3 separate regions of the Homo sapiens genome follow, and all the other regions are linked to region 1. Evidence: promoter capture Hi-C in 16 types of primary human blood cells and fetal thymus (Javierre and others, 2016). All regions are on one chromosome and are shown on one strand. The core of a region is centred on a gene start or on the middle of the fragment in contact, and the rest is flanking DNA. Distances in the headings are between cores, read along the strand shown.

What was found. The method cuts DNA at HindIII sites, captures the fragments that hold promoters and counts their contacts. A CHiCAGO score of 5 or more calls a contact.
Region 2: a contact is called between a fragment that was not itself captured here and the fragment with the promoter of CLU in region 1, in 2 of 17 cell types (naive B cells and M0 macrophages). The highest score is 6.6, in naive B cells.
Region 3: a contact is called between a fragment that was not itself captured here and the fragment with the promoter of CLU in region 1, in 1 of 17 cell types (neutrophils). The highest score is 5.4, in neutrophils.

What each region holds. Positions count from the first base shown.
Region 1 is chr8:27,613,152-27,616,692 of GRCh38, forward strand. It overlaps CLU (clusterin), which reads right to left and starts at 1,549. Exons shown (of 9, transcript NM_001831.4): 1 at 1,504-1,549. RefSeq lists silencers at 1-147, 1,703-1,792 and enhancers at 1,181-1,680, 2,637-3,137, 3,428-3,541. The HindIII fragment of the contact is 8,616 bases long and covers 1-3,541 here.
Region 2 is chr8:26,695,406-26,699,340 of GRCh38, forward strand. No RefSeq gene overlaps it. Among named protein-coding and RNA genes, the nearest start is that of ADRA1A, 170 kb to the right of the region's middle. The HindIII fragment of the contact is 718 bases long and covers 2,113-2,830 here.
Region 3 is chr8:26,671,208-26,674,722 of GRCh38, forward strand. No RefSeq gene overlaps it. Among named protein-coding and RNA genes, the nearest start is that of DPYSL2, 160 kb to the left of the region's middle. The HindIII fragment of the contact is 1,082 bases long and covers 1,396-2,477 here.

The DNA of each region.
Region 1 (3,541 bases), core at 299-2,798:
CAAGACAGGCGGATTACTTGAGATCAGGAGTTCGAGACCAGCCTGGCCAAGGTGGTGAAACCATGTCTCTACTAAAAATACAAAAATTAGCCGGATGTAGCAGCATGCGCCTGTAGTCCCAGCTACTCAGAGGCTGAGGCATGAGAACTGCTTGAACCCGGATGGCGGAGGTTGCAGTGAGCCGAGATGGCGCTACTCTACTCCAGCCTGGGCAACAGAGTGAGACTTGGTCTCAGGAAAAAAAAAAAAAAAGAGAGAAAAGAAAGAAAGAAAATCAATGACTGTGAACAGGGAGCCGTGGGGAGGATGGGAAGACAGTGAAGAGGGCACACAGATGGTGAGGGTTTCAATCCCAAAGCCCCGGCTCCTATCTGCTTCTTCAAATGGAGAAAACTAAACCAAAAGGAAAATAAGAAAAATAATCACCGGTAATTCATATCACCCAGAGGCAAAGGTTAGCACTGTGGTATATTTCCTTCTGTCTTCCATGCAGTTTATACAAGATTCTTCACATTCACCATCTTCAAATATTCTTTAAGGGCATACTTTTATGGCTATGTAATACTCCACTTACTCACGGACCTAAGTTTATTTTACCATTCTCACAAGATTGGCCATTTCAGTTGTGCCCAATGCTCCACTATTATTATAACTTAACATTTTCATGGGCATCTTTTTTTATATAGTATCTGTACTTTCCTTTAAATTCCTAACCTCTCCGTTTAAAAAATAATAATAAAAATCATATTTTTTTTAACTAGGTCCAGAAATTCTGGAAGGTCAAGAGGCTTTGGCTCGAATCCCAATTCTGATACTTATTTGCTGTTTAGTGTTGGCACCAGTCCTAAACCTCTCCAGGCCTCAGATTATCATCTGTAAAATGAGACTGTGGAATCAGAGGTCTGAGGCCTGGTGGATCTTGTGTGACTTTTCTCTGATGCACCTCAGATGCATTAGGAGGCAGAAAAAGTCGGATTTCGGTGGTTGCAGCATATACTGAAATCCGCAGCCTCATACTTACAGGCAACAGTGTCCAGAGAGCTAGAGAATTTAGAAGAAAACTAGATGACTCATGCATGCAAGCCGAAAGCCACAACTGAGAGATCCGCATCTTCGCAGAGGATATGCTGCAGGAAGGAGCTCGGTGCAGGCCAGCTCTGTCACCTGCTAGCCTGGGTCTCCCGCAACGCGGCAGGTCTCCAGGTCTCAGTTTCCCCATCTTTGCGAAAGGATGATCATTATATCTGTTCTATTTACCCCCCCACCACAGAATTGTGGTTGGAGCTCGTGCTCTCAGGCGGCGGTTGCGCCGGGGCCCCTGGCTCAGCTGCCTGGTGATGGGGCTCCGGCCACCTCCCCTCCCTGGCTTCCTGGGCTCCGTCGAAAGCGCAGGGGTTGTGACTGCGAGCTGTGTCATCCCTCTCTGCCTGGCTGCCATCCCCTGCCCGCCCATCCGTCCTGGTGTGGCTCTGCTCAAGGGTAGGGAAGACGGGGACATCTCACCGGTCAGCGGCACCCTGTGCCCGCGCGCTCCTCCTGGCGACGCCGCGTTGTGGGCACTGGGAGGCGCCGTATTTATAGCGCTCTGCTCGCGCACACACCCCCTTTGGGGCTGGCTGCAAACCTGCATGACTCACGCCCAAAGAATGCCGCGGAAAGCAAGGGGAGCTTTCTGGAAGCCGGGAGGTGGGGGCCGGTGCAGCACCGGGCTGGGGGCGCCGGGGGGCGCATCATCACCACGAATAGCTGTGCTGGCTCCAGGAGAGACCCTGAGGTGCGGCCGCTCGGCGCTTCCAGTAGGGAAGAGCCTGAACTCGCGTGCCCATCTGGGAGCCCCTCTCACGCGGTTAGCCCGGCTGTCTGTCCCAGTCCAAGACACAATCTCACAGTTCCCTGGCCCTACTGACCTTAACCTTCACATTACACAAGCGCCACTTCTCTTGACCCATTTAAATAGTAAAGAGTCAGACATAATGAGGGTGGGATGGAGAGGGGCCTTGTGCTGGAGAAGAGAGCACAGGAAGTATTGAAACGCCTACTCCTGGAAACATCACACTGATGGGGGTCCCTGGACTGACCCGCCAGGCCTGGAGGAAACAGAATTGTGTTTAGGAGTGATCAGAGCAGATATGTGGAGAGCCAGAAGGCCTCTCCGGGGTCCTTGATCCACAGAGCTTAAGCAATCACTGTCCCCATCTTTTTGGAACCCAACCAAGCAGGGTGGGCTTCATGGCTGTGGGACCCTTGCAGATCCACGTTTGGTTTAATGGGCTACTGTGACGGTCTTGAAATTCTTCATAGTTTTTGAACCAGTGGACCTGAATTTTTATTTTGCCCTGAGCCTTCCCAGTTAGGAAATCAGATCTGTGTCCAGAGGGGTTTGCTGGTCTCCAACTGCTGGAGTTCCTTCTGCTGAGAGCAGGGAGAATCTCCTGTCGCAGCCACCCCTCCCCCTGGCAAGGAGGGGCAAATCTAGGAACCCTGGAGGTGCAGCTACTTCTTGGGGAAGAAAGTGAGCTGCCCATTTTGGAGCCAGGGATGTTTAAGCCCCAGGAGAGAAGTCAAGGGGCTGACAGCTGGGGCAATGGGTGGACAGGGCGGGTACAGGCAGCCCCACTGTGGGTGGCAGACTTTGAAAACCATGTGAAACAAAGGGGCTTAAAGGAGAGCTGCGTGGTCAGGGGCTGAGTTTTCCAGTTCAGGATCAGGACTATGGAGGCACAACATGGAGGCCCAGTCCCTTGCTTGCCCAACGTCCAGGGGCCACTAGGACCCCAGTCCTTTTCAGGAGGCAGCCTCGGGGAATCTTCAAGGCCCATGACTAAGTGGGAGAACCCAGACCAGGTCCATGAAAGTCTGATTACAGTCCTAGGTGTGCCCCTAGACACTGGGTGACCTCGGACTAATCACTTTGCCCTTGGGCCTCAGTTTCTTCCATCTGGACGATGAGGAATCGGGAATGGATCATCTCCACGGCTCCCTGCAACCTAACCTAGAGCCAAGCCAAGTATTAGAAGGCCATTAACCCAGAAGAAGAAAAAAATGTCCCAGAAGAGGCTACACTTTATTTTTCTTAAAAAAAAAATGTCTAATTATCAGTAACAGCTACATTTTCTGTGGACAGTGCCTGCTCCTTATCAGTGCCTGCTCCTTATCAATACCTGAGGTTAGAAGAATTGTTTTTGAGCTCGCTCCTTGTAACTTTTCTGTTCTGTAGCTCCCTCAGCATCCGGAACAGAAGGCATAAATCTAGTTATATTTTTAAAAATTAGACTTTGGAGGTCAGTCAGTGAGATCCGCCTTAGCCAGCTGAATTAGGGGAAGGGAAGAGAGGAAGAAAGGACTTGGGAGAAAATAGCATGATTCACAGATTCACAGTCATGACTGTGATCCCTTGGGAATAATTACTTGATTATTCCCACTACTAAGCAAACAAGGTTCAGAAGGTCAAACTTTGAGGAAAGAAAAGTGTAAATTTTGAAAGCGCCATAAATGCATCACCAGATGTTTCATATTCTAAGCAGATCATAGACATTGATTG
Region 2 (3,935 bases), core at 1,222-3,721, 920 kb before region 1:
ACCTGCTTGAGCTTCATTCATTAGCCATTTCTACCTGGAAGTGTCCAGCTCTGGTCCTGTACATCCCCTGCTTTATGAGTCACTGTGTCAGACAGCACCCCATTTGTGATGAGACGCTCAGGCCACATAACCATATGATGTCCCATGGTCAGGTATTCAGTCCCTATCAGGTGTGTTGCAAGGCAGGAGCCACTTCTCAAAAGGAGAATAATTACCTGAAGAAGAGGGCAAGGCTTTGCTCCTAAACCTTAGATCCCTGCATGACAATTGCCCTGCTGCAGCTGTCAGAGGCTTCACGCTGCATTGCTAGTTTCCATAGAAACTTCAAGCATTGTGGATATTCTGGGTCATAAGGCCCAAGTGACAGTGCGGTTTTCTCTGAAGGCTGAACCTGCTGCAGACACCTTCTCGCCTCTGGTCCCTGTTCAATACTGGAAGCCTAATGGGTAAACGGGTCAAAATAGCACATTTAATGTGATATGTTTCCTCCAAAATTAAAAAAGGAGACCCACCAGGTAGCAGCAACTTGTTTTCAGTGATAAGAGGAGAAAGGTACAACAATTTTCACTTTGAATAGGATACCCCAATATGCTCTGTTTGGACTCAGGACTCATCTCCCATCCTCCAGCCTGCATGTGTCTTCTTCCTATGGTATCTAAGGAAGTCACTATTTCCTGTGCATCAGGTCTCATCTGCATAACACTGCCAATATAGTGGACCAGTATGATTTTTGTAGGATGTAAAGACTGTTAAGATCTCTACTCTGAGGCAAAAAAAAAAAAAAAAAAAAAACCCAAAAACTTGAAAGTGTACTGTTGATTCTGCCAGTTAAAACAAATGGCTTCTGATGCTCCTTGGAAATGGGTGGAAAGAGAACTAAGCACCTGGCACATTGGGTGCTACACACCAGATGCAATGAGTTGTGCTGATTTGCTCCAGGAAAGTGTTGGCATCTGGAGCAGCAGCTGCAAGAGAAGGCAGCATCTGCTTAGGTTTACAATAATCCATGTTCTCCAAGATCCATCTGCTCCTGACAGACTCAACAGATCTGTAAAATGAGCAAAGTGATAAGTATCACCACTTCTTCCTTCGAGTCTTTGATGGTGGCCTTAATTTCTGCAGATTCTCCTAGGGATATAGTAAAGCTCTGGGTTTCTATCCTAGCAGAGGGGATGTTCCAAGGCCTTTCTGCTAAGATAGAAAGTAGTGCTCATCGTAGGGATCAGAGAGCCAACGTGGGCATTCCTCATACCACATTGAGTGTGGTGACTCTGTGCATCCGGGACATGGAGAAGTGATAGTAGGGATGTCCTTGTACCTACTGGGCCTGCTGTGATTTGGACTTGAGCTAAAACTCCATTTGTCAGCTGACTATTAGACCATTCCTCCCACTTTGACTAGTAGATCACATGGATGTTTTGGGTCCCTGGGAGCAAGCATCAGTTCCAAGCTAGGGTCTTGTAATGCACAAAAGGTCCAGAGATTCTTCTTTCTAGTGCATGATCACCATTTCTTAAGGTTGCATACCCTTTGGGAGAAGGCAAGGAGCAGCACATACTTGTGACAGGGTTGCAGGGGCCTTCCTTAAGGTGACTTGGTCTCTTCAATGAAGGGTCTGTGAAAGGGCTTGTGTCTAGAAACTGGAGGAAAGTTTTTCCATTGGAGTGATGCAAGACTCCCCATTGTGGCGACTCTGCAGACCAAGAGCTATGTTAGTAGGCTGTCCATGCACTGCATTCCCAGGGACACTGTGATACATGAGCCACCTTGTACCAAAGATCTGTGCGGATCCCATTCACCAAGTCGCTCCTGCTGCTCGTCACTCTAGATGTGCCCACCTTGTCTCTGACAGTTAAGTGCTGCCTTTGGCCTCTGTTGGTCATCTTCCTCCCTGAAATCAGGGAGCCCATCTCAGTAGAGGCATCCTACAGGGTCACACTGGGATCCGGGAGATGGGCCCCAGAGAGCTTTGCTAGGACACTGCTGCTTTGCCCACTGCTATGATTCTCAAGGTCGTAGTCAAGAGAATGCCCTCTTCGGGGATGAAGAAGGGGTGAGGCTTGGTGTACAGGTTGCGTATGATAAATCCAGCCCAACATTACCATATCCATAAGCTTTTGAACTCTGTCCTTTACATTATACCAGGAAAGTTCTGGAATCCCAACCTTGGTGAATATAGGCTACCACTAAGTTATAATCTCCCAGCCAAGCAGACCATTAGAACTAATCTCAATTACAGTAGCTAACATGTTCAATCCCACATGTCCAGCGGTTTGACCCCTATGTACTGATAGGGGTCTTAGTACTACTTAGGGCTACTTAGTACTTAGTACTTAGTACACTTAGCCCTGTCTCATGCTGTGTCCTCTCCCCCTTGGTCCACCATCCCTACAGTTTACTCCTACACACGTTGCAAAGTTTAGAGGAGCACAATTTGCATTCTATTCCTTGGCCAAGAGAAAAAGGCCGGGGAGTCTTAGTTGGAGTCCACGAGGCTGCTGGCTGACGACTAATCGAGTAGCATGGTAATCCTTTGTTTTACTGCCTTATATATGTTTTGCGTTTATAAGTCCAATTTACAGAAATGCCTCACAGGGTGAATGAAAGTGAATTTCTTGGAGGTCCCATGAGGACTGAGTGAGCCACCTCCTGCACCTGTGCTCTCTGCCTGGCCGGCGAGAACAACATCTAGAGGCTTCTTTGAAGGCTCACCTTAGTTAGGGCTGTTGGACAAACAAAATATGTCAATGTCTTCATTTGAGAGGCCACAGAACTTTGAAAACAATTTTTTAAGGAGACTTGAATGGAGTAGCTGGTGTGTACTTTGCAAAGCTTTGGAGAAGCTTTGAAGCTGGCCCTAAACAGTGCAGGCCAACACATTGAAGGCTTCTTTGAATGCTGGGTGTCCAGGGCTGTTAATGCCTTACTTGCACCTGCTATGAGGCTCAAAATAAAAACAACAACAACAAAATGAAAACAAAAAGTAGATCTCTTGATTAAAGGAAAATGGAAAGCCATTGGTGTCAACATGTTGATTTCAGTCCTCATATCTGACAGTAATATTTGTATACTTCTGTCTATACTTGTTAAATCTCTAATAAATACATTTTCTTGCTAAAAACTTATACATAGCAAATTCTTACCAGTTTATTAGTTAAAATTGGACTTCCTGTAGGCAAAGGTAAGAATTCTTTGCAATGTCAAGGAGAACCGAGACACTTCACCCCTCAAAATGTGCTATTGCATTAATGCGGTCAGGTTGGAAGCATTTGAGAAGCCTATTGCAAACCTCAGCTTGTTTATAAGAATTTTACAGAACTCTAGTTCATACAAGCTCATACAAGTCATACAAGCTCTATTGCTTAATTCACTTCCTAGACAGTGAAAGTGAAGTTTGTAACCATCTGTCAGAAAGTGATACAGTTAGGAAAATGTAGTTATATGTCAGCTAACTCCATTTCACTCAACAAACCGTATGATTAACACAGGTGTGTTCACAGGAAACACAGTGAGTGTTGGTCTTTGCTTAATGGAGTCTCAAGAAGACATTTTCAATGCTACAGGAGGCCTTTTCTTTCCCCTGCTAGAAAATTCATAGTCTTGTGACATTTTTTGGCAGTATGTGAAAATACAAGGAATTGATGGTGTGGATTCCTTGACACTTTAGGGAGGACTGCAAAGGGTTCAGAGCTTTGCTTCTAGTTTTTGATGGCATGAGATCCCATTTAGAAGCTCCTCTGAATGCTCACTGTAGCCAGCTTTTAAGTACAATGAGTTTGTTTGCTAACTATTATTATTTTGATATTAAAAAAATCAAACGGCTACTATTGGATTGCTTGCTTCTGTGGATCGCTAGGACTTTCAAGTAGAACTTAAATTCCAGTTCTAGAAATCCAGATAAATATTTAGAAGCTTCTGTGCATATTTGTGGAAGT
Region 3 (3,515 bases), core at 687-3,186, 940 kb before region 1:
CTGTGTGTCCTGGACCATGAAGAAAGGCAGACTTGTAGCTTGTTTGCTTCTTTTTGCTTTCCCCTGCTCCCACCAGCCTGACTTTTTCCCTAATGAGGACTTCACAGTTTGCAGCGTTGTCAAATTAGCTAACCAGATGCAATAGGAGTCAGGCTTTCATTCCCTCTTGCAGCCTGTTTCGGTGCTTCATGTTAAAATCCTGTAGTTACTCTCTCTCTCTTTCTTTCTCTCCCTTTCTCTCTCTCTCTGTCAACAGAGGCACTGTAAATTACCAGTGACTGGTCAAATTTGTGACCATTCTTTATCTCCTTCCCTCCTGTCCCTGAATTTGGCTCTCGTACCCAAGCCTGGCTTTCGTATCACACTGGATGTATGGGGAATGAGGCTCAGCACTGTCACTGCATTTGTGTTATTTCATCTGATCAGTGTTGTGATGAACTATAAACCACAAGGACTCAAGGGATCCCCCTGCCTCAGCCTCCTGAGTAGCTGGGATTACAGGTATTATGATACCCGAAATAGGTAATATATTAGCTGCCTATATACTATTCATGCTGATTCATTTATCTGTACTAATTAAGACTTAGCACCTTAGGTGAATGGAACATAGACCAAACAAGCTTTTTAAAATAACGATTTAAAACAAAAGAAAAGTAATGTATGTTAAATGTAAGAACATATTTAAAAAGTAAAGTATCAGCATAATATTGGCTTCCTATAATGATTTGGGATGTGTTCTTTCTTTTTTAATTTAATGCAAGAATGTATTCAATGTATTATTTCCTCCTTAACTGCTTGACTGGTTGAATTGACCATTGAAACCATTTGGACCTAGAGTTCTCTCTGTGGGAATGTTTTTAAACTACAAATTCAATTTCTTTAATAGGCATAGGGCTATTTAGTTTATCTGTTTCTTCTTGAGTAAGCTTTGGTAGTTTGTGTCTTCCATGGAATTTGTCCATTTCGTCTGAGTTGTTGAATTTATTGGCATAGAATTGTTAATCATATTTCCTTATTATCTTCTTAATATTAATAGAATTTTCAGTGATGTCATCCTCTCTTTCCCAATGTTAGTAATTTGCATCATCTCCCTTTTTCTCCTTATCACAATGGTTAGTTTATCAATTTCATTGATCTGAAAAAACTAGCTAATAGTTTAGTTGATTTTCTCTATTGTTTTACTGTTTTGCATTTAATTGATACTTCACTCTGATTTTCATAATTTCTTTTCTTCTATTTAGGACGAATTTAATTTGCTCTCCTTTTTCTAGTTTTCTGAAGTGGAATCTGATGTATTTTTTCTTTTCCAATGAAGGCATTTAGTGCTATAAGTTTCACTGAAGTTACCGTATTCATTTTCTTTTTACCCATGAGTTATTGAGGAATATGCTATTAAGCTTCGAAGTATTTGGGAATGATCCAGAGATTTTTCTGTTACTGACTTCTAACTTAAAGTCATTGTAGTTAGAGAACTTACATGGTGTGAACTTAAATAACCTTAAATTTATGGAGACATATTTTATGAGCCTAAATATGATCCATCTTGAAAAATGTTCCAAATGCACTTGAGAAAAATGAGTATTCTGCTGAGAGGGAATGGAGGGTTCTATAAATGTCGGTAGGCCAAGTTGGTTGATGGAGTTCTTGAAATATCCTAATGTCCACAGTGATTATTCATCTACTTGTTATATCAAGCCATACCAGCCTATTAGCTGAGAATGACTGGATCTGAAATTTTAGGACAGTGTCAAAGTGGAGCCAGCAGCATCATTATTTGGTTTTCCACATTGTTGGGAGACCATCCCTGTAACATATTCCAAAGCAAATTTCTATAAAATGCCAGTCTGGGGAGATGCTCTGTGGAAACAATGTGATATAGGTCAAATGGGTATGAAGCACTTGGGGAGTTAGAATACATATATGAAATCTTGTTTAATTTGGTTAATTATTTCTCAAATTTATTTTATCATAGCATCATTTTTTTACGTGACACTTATAAAATCCTTCAGAACTAAAATTATTTGGGATACATTTAGAGAAATATGTAGATATGGCTAGTATCTAGTAGGTACTAGATACATTTCTAGCTTTTGTGGTCACATAGATACTTTTTATTTGTAAAAGTATTATTACATTCCTATTTTAGTAAGTCCTTTTTTTAAAGAGCAGGTACCACATTTTAACAAATCTTAATGGGATGAACTTGTGGTTTTCATTTGCCACTACTGAAGTGACAAATGATATTAATTCATGGATATTATTTTCTAATGAAGCTGATATCAATTTGTGTAGAGTTGTATTTAGAATGTTAGATCAATATCTATAGTTGAGACAGGTCAAAGGGTTTTTGAATGTGTATGTTAGTTTTGTCAGGCTTTGACACTTAAGGCTAGGGTGGCTTCTTAAATTAATTAGGATTGTTTCCATGTTTGTGGGCTGCAGAATAGTTTATATAACATAAAAATTATCTGTTTGAAAGCTTAAAAAGACTTGCCCATAAAACTGTCTGAGCCCAGAACCATAATTAGATTATAAATACGTGTAATTAAGGGAATGTTTGGTTTGTTTTATGTGTAAAGAGTGGAGGAGAGTTAAATACTTGACATGTGGGAGAGGCTTCCTTAAAGTAATAGAGCCCCTTGACACCAATTACAAGGAAACATGTGCTTCCTCTGTGTTCCCTCCCTCCCTTCCTCCCTCCCCTCCTCCTCCCTCCCCTCCTCCTCCTCCTCTTCCTCCTCTTCCTCCTCCTCCTCCTTCTTCTTCTTCTCTCTCCCTCTCTCCCTCCCTCTCTCTCTCTCTCTTTCTTTCTTTCGTCTCACTCTGTCATCCAGGCTGGAGGGCACTGGCACGATCTTGGCTCACTGCAACCTCTGCCTCCTGGGTTCAAGTGATTCTCCTGCCTCAGCCTCCCAAGTAGCTGGGATTACAGGTGTCCCCCAAACATGCCTGGCTAATTTTTTGTATTTTTAGTAGAGAAGGGGTTTCACTACATTGGCCAGGCTGGTCTCGAACTCCTGACTTCAGGTGATCCACCCGCCTCGGCCTCCCAAAGTGCTGGGATTACAGGTGTAAGCCACTGCGCCCGGCCTGACTTAGGGTTTTCTTTCACCAGGGAGATAAACACAGGATTGATCAGGTATAGCTTTATGTAATTGATCTAAGCAATACTTTGACCAAGACAGAAGCCCCTGGCTACATCTTTACCAGCAACAGAAGAAATTAAACCCTTCTTAGTCAGGACTAGAGAACTTGACACTGTCACAACGTGAGTAAAACTGAGAGAGGCTGATGGGAGCAGAGCATCCCATCTATGCAGGAGAATCCCTGTCCCGGAGCAAGCAGGAGGCTGATGGGAACAGAGTATCCCATCTATGCAAGAGAATCCCTGCCTTGAGACAAGCAGGACCAGCATGCACCAAGGTGCATGAAATTCCTGCGATAAACATCCAGTTATCCATGTTAAGACGAGCACCTTGTCATCACCCAGCCAAGATGTTCTTCTTTACGGGCAA